Regions from separate parts of the Homo sapiens genome. Here all the other regions are linked to region 1. Evidence: promoter capture Hi-C in 16 types of primary human blood cells and fetal thymus (Javierre and others, 2016). All regions are on one chromosome and are shown on one strand. The core of a region is centred on a gene start or on the middle of the fragment in contact, and the rest is flanking DNA. Distances in the headings are between cores, read along the strand shown.

Region 1 (2,700 bases), core at 195-2,694:
TGGGAGGTGATCTCAGAAGCTGTGGGAGGGGAGAGAAGTGGGTGGGGAAGGGAAGGAGACAGTAGCGGGCTCATTGACAAGACAGTACTGGGTTCGTTGACTTATGGAGCTCATTCGACTGGGGACCTCTAGGAGATATGGTAGAACATACTTCGATTTGTCCCATAAGAGGGACGAGGGAGTGGGGGCATTTATCTACCACCTCCCATCTGTCACTGGCTGAGGGCTGCTCTGAGAGGTATTAGGCCAACACAGAAAATCTAAAGACTAAGTAGTCAGCCTGGCAAAGTGAAGTTGAGGAGCAAGAATTCTGTTCCAGGCAGAGGGAACAGCATTTGCAAAATTCTAGAGGTGAACAAAGCAAGATGCCTCTGGGACATTGCAAATCATCCAGGCTTCAGAGATTGGCAGGCGCCCAACCACAGGGGTGCATGTAGGCCACAGAGAAGAGTGTGGGCTTTATCTGGAGGGCAATGGGGAGCCATGGGAGAGTTTAGAGCATGGGAAAGACTATGTTACAGGTCTGGAAGCTGAGGCCCAGAGAGGCTAAGGAATTTAGCTGATGTCATACAGCTTATGAATGGCAGAGACAGAAATCCGACTTGAGTGGGCTGCAGACAGATTGAGGGTGTGAAATTTGGGGGATGGGGACTGGGGAGGAGGTGAGGCTGATGCCCAGGGCTGAAGCTCAGGCAGGGGGCACAGTTGGAGACCCAGCTGGAGAGGCAATGCTATAGGGAGAGAGAATGAAGCTGGTGCAAGCCTGGAGGCCAACCTGGCGGTGCGGACTTGGGACCACTGACCCCCACCAGCCCCACCCTGACCCTGGCACTTGACTCTCCCTCCAAATCAAGTCCAGGAGGGCTCTGAGGATATATGGACTCAGACCTGAGTCCGGATAAAAGAGCCAGCTACGGAGAGAAAGGGCTTTCCAGGCAGGAGGCCCAGCCCATGCAAAGGCCCTGGGGCAGGATCCTGCCTGGTGTGTTGGAGGAACAGCAAGGAGATCTGTGTGGCTGGAGCAGAGTGAGGGATGGTGACAGGGGGTCAGGAATTTGGGTTTTAAGCACTGATCTCATTGTAGGGGGGCGTGGCTTGAACAAGTCTGGGTCACTCTTGGAGTCTCAGACAAGGGTAACATTGAACCTTCTACAGTGTGTTGCTAGGAACCTCCAGAAGCTGATGCTGGTAGCGTCTTCGCACAGTGAGGGCTGAATCTGCACTGCTGGGGGCCGGCAGCCCTTTTGAAGCATCCCTGGGCCTCCTTGGGTCCAAAGATACCCTGAGCCTTCAAGAAGTTATCTCAAAGCTTGCCCGGGTACCGGCAAATCACAGACCTAGGAATGATCCATTGGCCACAGGCCCAGGCAGCTGGCAGCTCCTGGGACAGAATGTAGCAGGGCGATGTCACAGAAGCTGGGGGCATCTAGAACCCTGGTGACTCCTGGTCTCCATGTCATCTGCCAGAAAGGCCACCTGCGCCAGCACCTCCTGAGACCGGCCTTCAAAGACACGACGCATGCCGCTCTGCCGTCCGGAGCACTTAATGCCTAGAGCCAGCAGGGTCCCAGTGGCCGCGTCACTGCCTCTGAGCCACGCGGTCATTCCAACTCAACTGCCCTCGCGTCCTGGCCACAGGCCCCCTGGGAGACCCCGGAGATGCCCAAAGGCCTCATGCCTGCCGCCTCCAGTGGGACCTAGCAGCACACAGACAGCGAAGCGGGTGACCATGGGGTGGCCACGGCCGGGCCGAGCCCTCGTGGCAGTCAAAGCCTTGCTGGTCTTGTCGCTGCTCCAGGTGCCCGCGCAGGCAGTGGTACGGGCCGTGCTGGAAGACAACTCGAGCTCGGTGGACTTTGCGGATCTGCCGGCGCTGTTCGGCGTCCCCCTGGCCCCCGAGGGCATACGGGGCTACCTGATGGAGGTCAAGCCAGCCAACGCGTGCCATCCCATCGAGGCCCCGCGACTGGGCAACCGCTCTCTGGGCGCCATCGTGCTGATCCGCCGCTACGACTGCACCTTCGACCTCAAGGTGCTGAACGCCCAGCGCGCCGGCTTCGAGGCGGCCATCGTGCACAACGTCCACTCCGACGACCTCGTGAGCATGACCCACGTCTACGAGGACTTGAGGGGCCAGATCGCCATCCCCTCAGTGTTCGTGAGCGAGGCCGCCTCGCAGGACCTGCGGGTCATCCTGGGCTGCAACAAGTCGGCCCACGCGCTGCTCCTGCCCGACGACCCACCGTGCCACGACCTGGGCTGTCACCCCGTGCTGACCGTGTCCTGGGTGCTGGGCTGTACCCTGGCCCTGGTCGTATCAGCCTTCTTTGTCCTGAACCACCTGTGGCTCTGGGCCCAGGCCTGCTGCAGCCACAGACGGCCGGTGAAGACGTCTACCTGCCAGAAGGCCCAGGTCCGCACCTTCACGTGGCACAACGACCTGTGTGCCATCTGCCTGGATGAGTATGAGGAGGGCGACCAACTCAAGATCCTGCCCTGCTCCCACACCTACCACTGCAAATGCATTGACCCCTGGTTCTCCCAAGCCCCCCGGCGCTCCTGCCCCGTGTGCAAACAGTCGGTGGCCGCCACAGAAGACAGCTTTGACTCCACCACCTACAGCTTCAGGGACGAGGACCCCTCCCTACCGGGCCACCGGCCCCCCATCTGGGCCATTCAAGTCCAGCTACGCTCCCGGAG
Region 2 (2,700 bases), core at 7-2,506, 340 kb before region 1:
TGTTCCCTCTGCCCCGAGTGTTTTCACAGCCCCTCCTGACAGCCCTGCCAAGGTGAATCTGTCTCTTCTGCTCTTGTTCTGTCCTTTTGATTTCCTGCCTCCTGTGTGCTCCTCATGAAGAGCTGCCTCCTGGTGAGGCTACTCCAGGCGGCCCCCGCAGCACAGAGCTCGTGCACCCCAGCTCCCAGGCCCAGCCAGACGTGCTATTTGCATAATGGTTAATTGATTGTGGCTCAGGCTAATTGGTCAACAGAGTGGATTGCCAATAAACCGGCACCACGTTCCAGGAGTGGAATGGGACTAGAGGCCGTCTAAATTGCCTGCCAGGAGGAGATGCGGAAGCCGCTGCGCTCACCGCTGCTTGGAACCTTCTTTGCACGCAGGAAGTGGACCCCCCAGAACCAGCCCTTGCGTGGCCTGGCCTGGCCTCCCTGCCCCGGCCACCCCCTCACTTCTAGTCACGACCTGCTCCTCCCAGGAGCCCCCTCCCGCCCTCTCCCGCGCCGCCATCCTGGGGGCTGCCTTCACCCAGCAGCAAGCCTGAATAACAAATGAAGTCAGCTTCCCAAGGATATAATTTTCTTGAAAGCCTTCAGTATGTAAAACAAGGCTGATTCACTTTTTTTTTTTTTTTTTAAAGTCATTGGGGGTGCTTTTCTCTGGAGAGGCAGATGGGTGACTCACGTTCCAAAGCCCAAGCTGCCCCTCCCTCCACCAGGGAGGTGGTCGGTTCCCCCCTGAGCAGTGCCCTCTCCACGTGGCCTGCCTTTTCCCCTGAGCCAGGCTCCCTCCCTGAGGGCATATCTTGGGGCCAGGGCAGCCCTGTCTGAGCATCTGTGGCTCAGGCTGGATCGGGAGACACAGTGGACTGGCTCTGTCTCCCAGACAAGGGGCTTGTGGACACAGGCGGGATCCTTCTCTGGTTGGGGGAGCATCCTGGGCCCTGCAGGGTAATGAGCAGTATCCCTGGCCTCCACCCACTCCATGCCAGGAGTGCCCCAAGTCGTGACAACCACAGATGTCCCTAGACATCGCCCAGTCCCCCGCGTGGGAACCCCTGCCCTAGACCAAGGGATGGCATCAGGGTGGGCGCCATGCCCTCACCCCCGTGCAGTCCAGCCTTCCCTGCCCTCGGCGTGGCTGTGGGATGGCCCTCATGTGTTTACCAGGTGCCCCATGGGGTGCGGATGGTTCGGCACAGCTGCCTGAGCTCAGAGGACACGGCCTACTCCCTGCTCGCCACCTTACATGGGTCTCTTCCAGAACTAAATCTCGTTGAGCGAGCGTTGGGGGCTGTTTGTATTCTTCCCCCTGATGGATGGGTCGCCTAAAACTGCAGCCTGGCTCCTGGCGGGTGCCCTCAGCCTCCCCACTCCCGGTGGCGCTGTGCGTTCTGGTGCCCTGCCTGAGCCGGAGCCCTCACAGTGCTCTCTGGCACCCACGCGACGCTCCTCCATGCAAACTCTTTCCACGCGAGAAGCGCCATGTGCACGTGCTCCAGCAGGTACGCGCTCCCTGCAGGACATCTGTGCACCCGCCTCACCACAGCCTCCCTGGCCCACTGCTGCTCTGTGAGCCCGGCTGGGCCCAGGCCTCGTCTCCCCTACCCCTCCGAGCTCGGTGCTGCCTGTCCCCTCCTGCTCTGCCTTGGCCTGTCGCCCCTGCGCCAGTGCAGGACACCGCCACGCCTCTGGCCCCGACTCCTGCCAGGGCTGCCACGGCTGCCACACCCCAGCTGCATTCCTGAGCCCTCCCCACCAACAGGGACCTCAGCCCTCAGGGACAGAACCTCACGAGCACAGGGACCTGCCAGCCCCTGCAGGGAGTGCGCAGCCTCAGGGACTCACTTGCTGTCTCCTGTCTCTTTCCTAGAGCTGCCCTTCATTTTCTCAAAGGTGAAATTCCTCAGCACAGGGTCTAGTCTTGGGGGTGGGGAGCACTGGGCCACTTTGGGTCGGGGGTGGGCGGCTCTGAGGGCTCAGCCTGGGGCCAGCCTCCCAGTCCTCCCCACCTTGTGAGAAGCCCTGAGCCAGCGCGGCACTGAATGCTGATGGTCCCACTCTGGGTGCTGCAGGTGCCCTGTGTTACTGGGTGACAGGGCCAGAGGCCGTCCACCCCGCCTCCTGCCATACAAGCTGCAAAGGACACCTGCTTCCACCTTGGAAATATTAGTGCAGTTATCTGGACTATGTCCCGACATTTGGCTCATAGGAATGAGCCCAGCGGCGTCCAGTTAAGCCTGGCAGGCTAAGTGCTTATTTATCTCCACTCTCTCCTGAAACGCCACTGAAACACCAGAGAGTGAAGTGCAGAGAACGGGAGAGGGGGCAGTGGCAGCTGAGCACGTCTCCAGGCTTTGAAAAGCAGGGAAGGGTGGGCAGGAGACCCCATGGGCCGGCAACCAGGAGGACAGCCAGCAGGGAGCAGCTGGGCTGCACCATGGGGCCACAGAAAGACACAGTGGGCAGACATGGGCAGCTCCTGGAGGGCTGCAGGGGGAATGTACCACGGGGCCTCAGAAAGACACAGCGGGCAAACATGGGCAGCCCCTGGGGGTGCTGGGGGGATGTGGGGGCAACCAGCAGAAGACAGTGGGTGGCTCTGGGCAGAAGGGAGGCGCCTTCCTGGGGTCAGCAGTGGGGCCCAGCTGCCAGCCTCACATCCCCCCAACCCCCAAGGCCAGGAGAGACAATAGAGGGG
Region 3 (2,700 bases), core at 130-2,629, 410 kb before region 1:
GACTTAGAGGCGTGTTAATTATGCACTCCCAAACTGCAGGCTTCACAACAAGGCCTCCACCCAGCAGGAAGCACGCAGCTCAGTGGAATCTGACAGGCCCTGCCTGCCTGGTGCACGCTGGCATGTGCGATGGGGCCCTTCCTGGAAGGGCCAAGCTGGCGGTGAGCCCTTCAGAAAAGGTGTCTGGGCTGGGTATGGCGGCTCATGCCTGCAGCCCCAGCGCTTGGAGGGGCCAAAGTGGGAGGGACCATTGAGCCCAGGAGTTCGAGACCAGCCTGGGCAACAGAGTGAGACTTCATCTCTACACAGAAAAAAGTAAAAATTAGCCAGGTGTGGTTTCTCACGCCTATAGCCTATAGTCCCAGGTACTCAGGAGACTGAGGCTGGAGGATTACCTGAGCCTGGGAGGTTGAGGCTGCAGTGAGCTATGATTCTGCCACTGCACTCCAGCCTGGGCAAGAATCTCACACAGGTTAAGACCAGCCCCTGGTCTGCAGGGTATGACCGGCCCCTGGGGGGGCCGCAGATACTGGGGTGGAGGAGGATGGGCAGCGACCCCTGGGACTCTGGGGAGAATTAGCCTGCACCCCAGGGCTCGCAGGTTCTGGGGGTGGCCGGGCGGTTGCCGACGCTGCTCTGCCGCCCCACAGGACGTGGCCCAGTGGAACATCGGGAGCCTCCGGACCATCCTGGACATGGTGGAGCGCGAGTGCGGCACCATCATCGAGGGCGTGAACACGCCCTACCTGTACTTCGGCATGTGGAAGACCACCTTCGCCTGGCACACCGAGGACATGGACCTGTACAGCATCAACTACCTGCACTTTGGGGAGCCTAAGTCCTGGTGAGTGTCTGCACTGGCCCTGCCGCCGGCCGGACCGAGAGCCCCTCGGGAGGGAGTCAATCCCGGGTACACGGCTGGGCGCCGTGGCAGGGGCCCCACCAGGTGAGGCCGCAAAGGTCGGCCTATGACGGCTGGAGATCTTCCGGACCGCCTGGGGTCACCCACCAGCTTTGGGGTGGGGGATGTGCACCCCCAGAGCCGAAGCTCCCAGGCCCCTAGAGCTTGCGCTTTGTACCCCGGAGTGCCCCCCATTGAGCTGTGAGCGGCCCCAGGTGTCCCCATGGCCAGGAGCGTGGTCTTGAGCCTCCTGAGCTGCCCAGGCTGTGCTGCCTCACAGCCAAGTGGAGACGTTCCTGGTGAAGGGACACTGTCCATGCTGCCCAGAGGGGCCTGGCCAGGATGACCCTGCAGCCGCTCCCTCGCAGTCTCCGCCCTGGCACGTCTGGGCCAGGCCCTACAGTTAGGAGGGCAGGGCGTGGCGCTGCAGGCCTGTGTGCAGTGTGGTGGACCTGCCCCTGCCCGGGAGGTGCCGGGTGCAGCGTGGGCGCTGCTGTGGCGGGCTGAGTTCCAGGACCTTCTCCTGGCTCCCTGTGCACGTCGCAGCGAGGCCGTGTGGGGGTGTGTGTGAATGTGCACGTGTGCGCGCGCATGTGAGTGCGCACGTGAGTGAGTGTGAGTATGCATGCGTGTGTGTGCCCCTGTGTCACCGGGCTCTGCTTGTGACTGCGGAACCTGCTGGGTGCTCCGCGGGGCTGCCCTGCACTGTCCTCCAAGGGCCGCTAGGTGGCGCTCCCGCCCTTCCCGGGGCCGCGCTCATGCCTGGAATCTTCCCAGGCCGTCCTCGCGCTGGAGGAGGACGGAGCCTTTGCCTGGAGGGCGTGGGAGCTCCGCCTTGCCTGGCCCTTCCCTGGGTTGGAGTTGTAAGCGGGGAGAGGGGGGGGCGGGGGAGAATGCTGTACCTCTTCGTTAAAAAAAAGCACAATGAGCAGGAAGGGGCGAGCTGTGCGCATCCTCACCTGCGTCCGAAGCGCAGATGGAGCCCAAGGGAAAGGCCCTGTAGAGGACCCCGTGTGACTTGGGGCAAAGCGTGGCCTCCCAGGGGTGCGTGGGCAGCGGGACGCCCATGGTGTGACCGGGTTTGTGCCTCCATAGGGACCGTCTGCCCTGTGCAGAGAGCCCCTGTGGGGCGGGAAGTGGCGAGCAGCCGGCAAGGAGGCCCAGCCAGACAGAAGCAGGGGGGTCAGGGACATGGGAGGTGGGGGACCAGCCAGTGAGTCAGACGTGAGGACTTCAGTGCCAAGGACTGCAGTGCCAGCAGCTCGGTCTCCTGTGAGGGGCCCCGGGGGTTGCTGGCTGTCGTGGGAGCCTGGGCTGGGGGAGACCCTGGGGCTGGGGCTGCTATGGGTCAGATGCCAGGGCCGGGGGTGCCTGCTGCTAGGTCAGAGGGGCCTCTGCGGGAGGAGGCGACAGTGGCTCCCTGGAGGCGGCAGTGGGGCCCGGCCACAGGCCGTCGGAGGGACTGACAGGGATGCGCCAGGAGCCGAGGGCCTCTCCTGAGCTGGTTCATCCAGGACGCAGCCTCTGAGGGCATCCCGCACCTCTCCCCGAATGCCCCTCACTGCACCCCTCCTCTGCTTCGCCTGGTGCCGCAGGCGTCCAGCTGCCACTCCCATGTCTACCCTTCCCCATGACCCGTCGTGGGAGATGGCTCAGGGGAGACAGCTGGGGCGGGGCAGCGTTGAGTAGGCAACAGTTCTTTCGGGAAGGGAATTCCGGAAGCGCCCTGACCTTGGTCTTGGTTTTTGCCCAGGAAGGGGTGGGGATGGCAGGGGTGGGGCCTGGCATGAGGGGCCTGA

What was found. Contacts are between HindIII fragments. The CHiCAGO score rates a contact against its expected background, and 5 or more counts as called.
Region 2: a fragment that was not itself captured here is called in contact with the fragment with the promoter of ZNRF4 in region 1 in 1 of 17 cell types (M0 macrophages); the score reaches 5.2 in M0 macrophages.
Region 3: a fragment that was not itself captured here is called in contact with the fragment with the promoter of ZNRF4 in region 1 in 4 of 17 cell types (naive CD4 T cells, naive CD8 T cells, total CD8 T cells and 1 more); the score reaches 6.7 in naive CD4 T cells.

The regions. Positions count from the first base shown.
Region 1 is chr19:5,453,973-5,456,672 of GRCh38, forward strand. ZNRF4 (zinc and ring finger 4) reads left to right here and starts at 1,445. Exons shown (of 1, transcript NM_181710.4): 1 at 1,445-2,700. The coding sequence starts at 1,520. The HindIII fragment of the contact is 7,810 bases long and covers 1,308-2,700 here.
Region 2 is chr19:5,112,718-5,115,417 of GRCh38, forward strand. All of the region lies in intron 10 of KDM4B (lysine demethylase 4B), which reads left to right. Among named protein-coding and RNA genes, the nearest start is that of PTPRS-AS1, 64 kb to the right of the region's middle. RefSeq lists enhancers at 1,450-2,405, 2,406-2,700. The HindIII fragment of the contact is 4,202 bases long and covers 1-2,700 here.
Region 3 is chr19:5,046,826-5,049,525 of GRCh38, forward strand. It overlaps KDM4B (lysine demethylase 4B), which reads left to right. Exons shown (of 23, transcript NM_015015.3): 6 at 651-844. Among named protein-coding and RNA genes, the nearest start is that of KDM4B, 79 kb to the left of the region's middle. RefSeq lists enhancers at 1-592, 2,086-2,688. The HindIII fragment of the contact is 3,979 bases long and covers 1-2,700 here.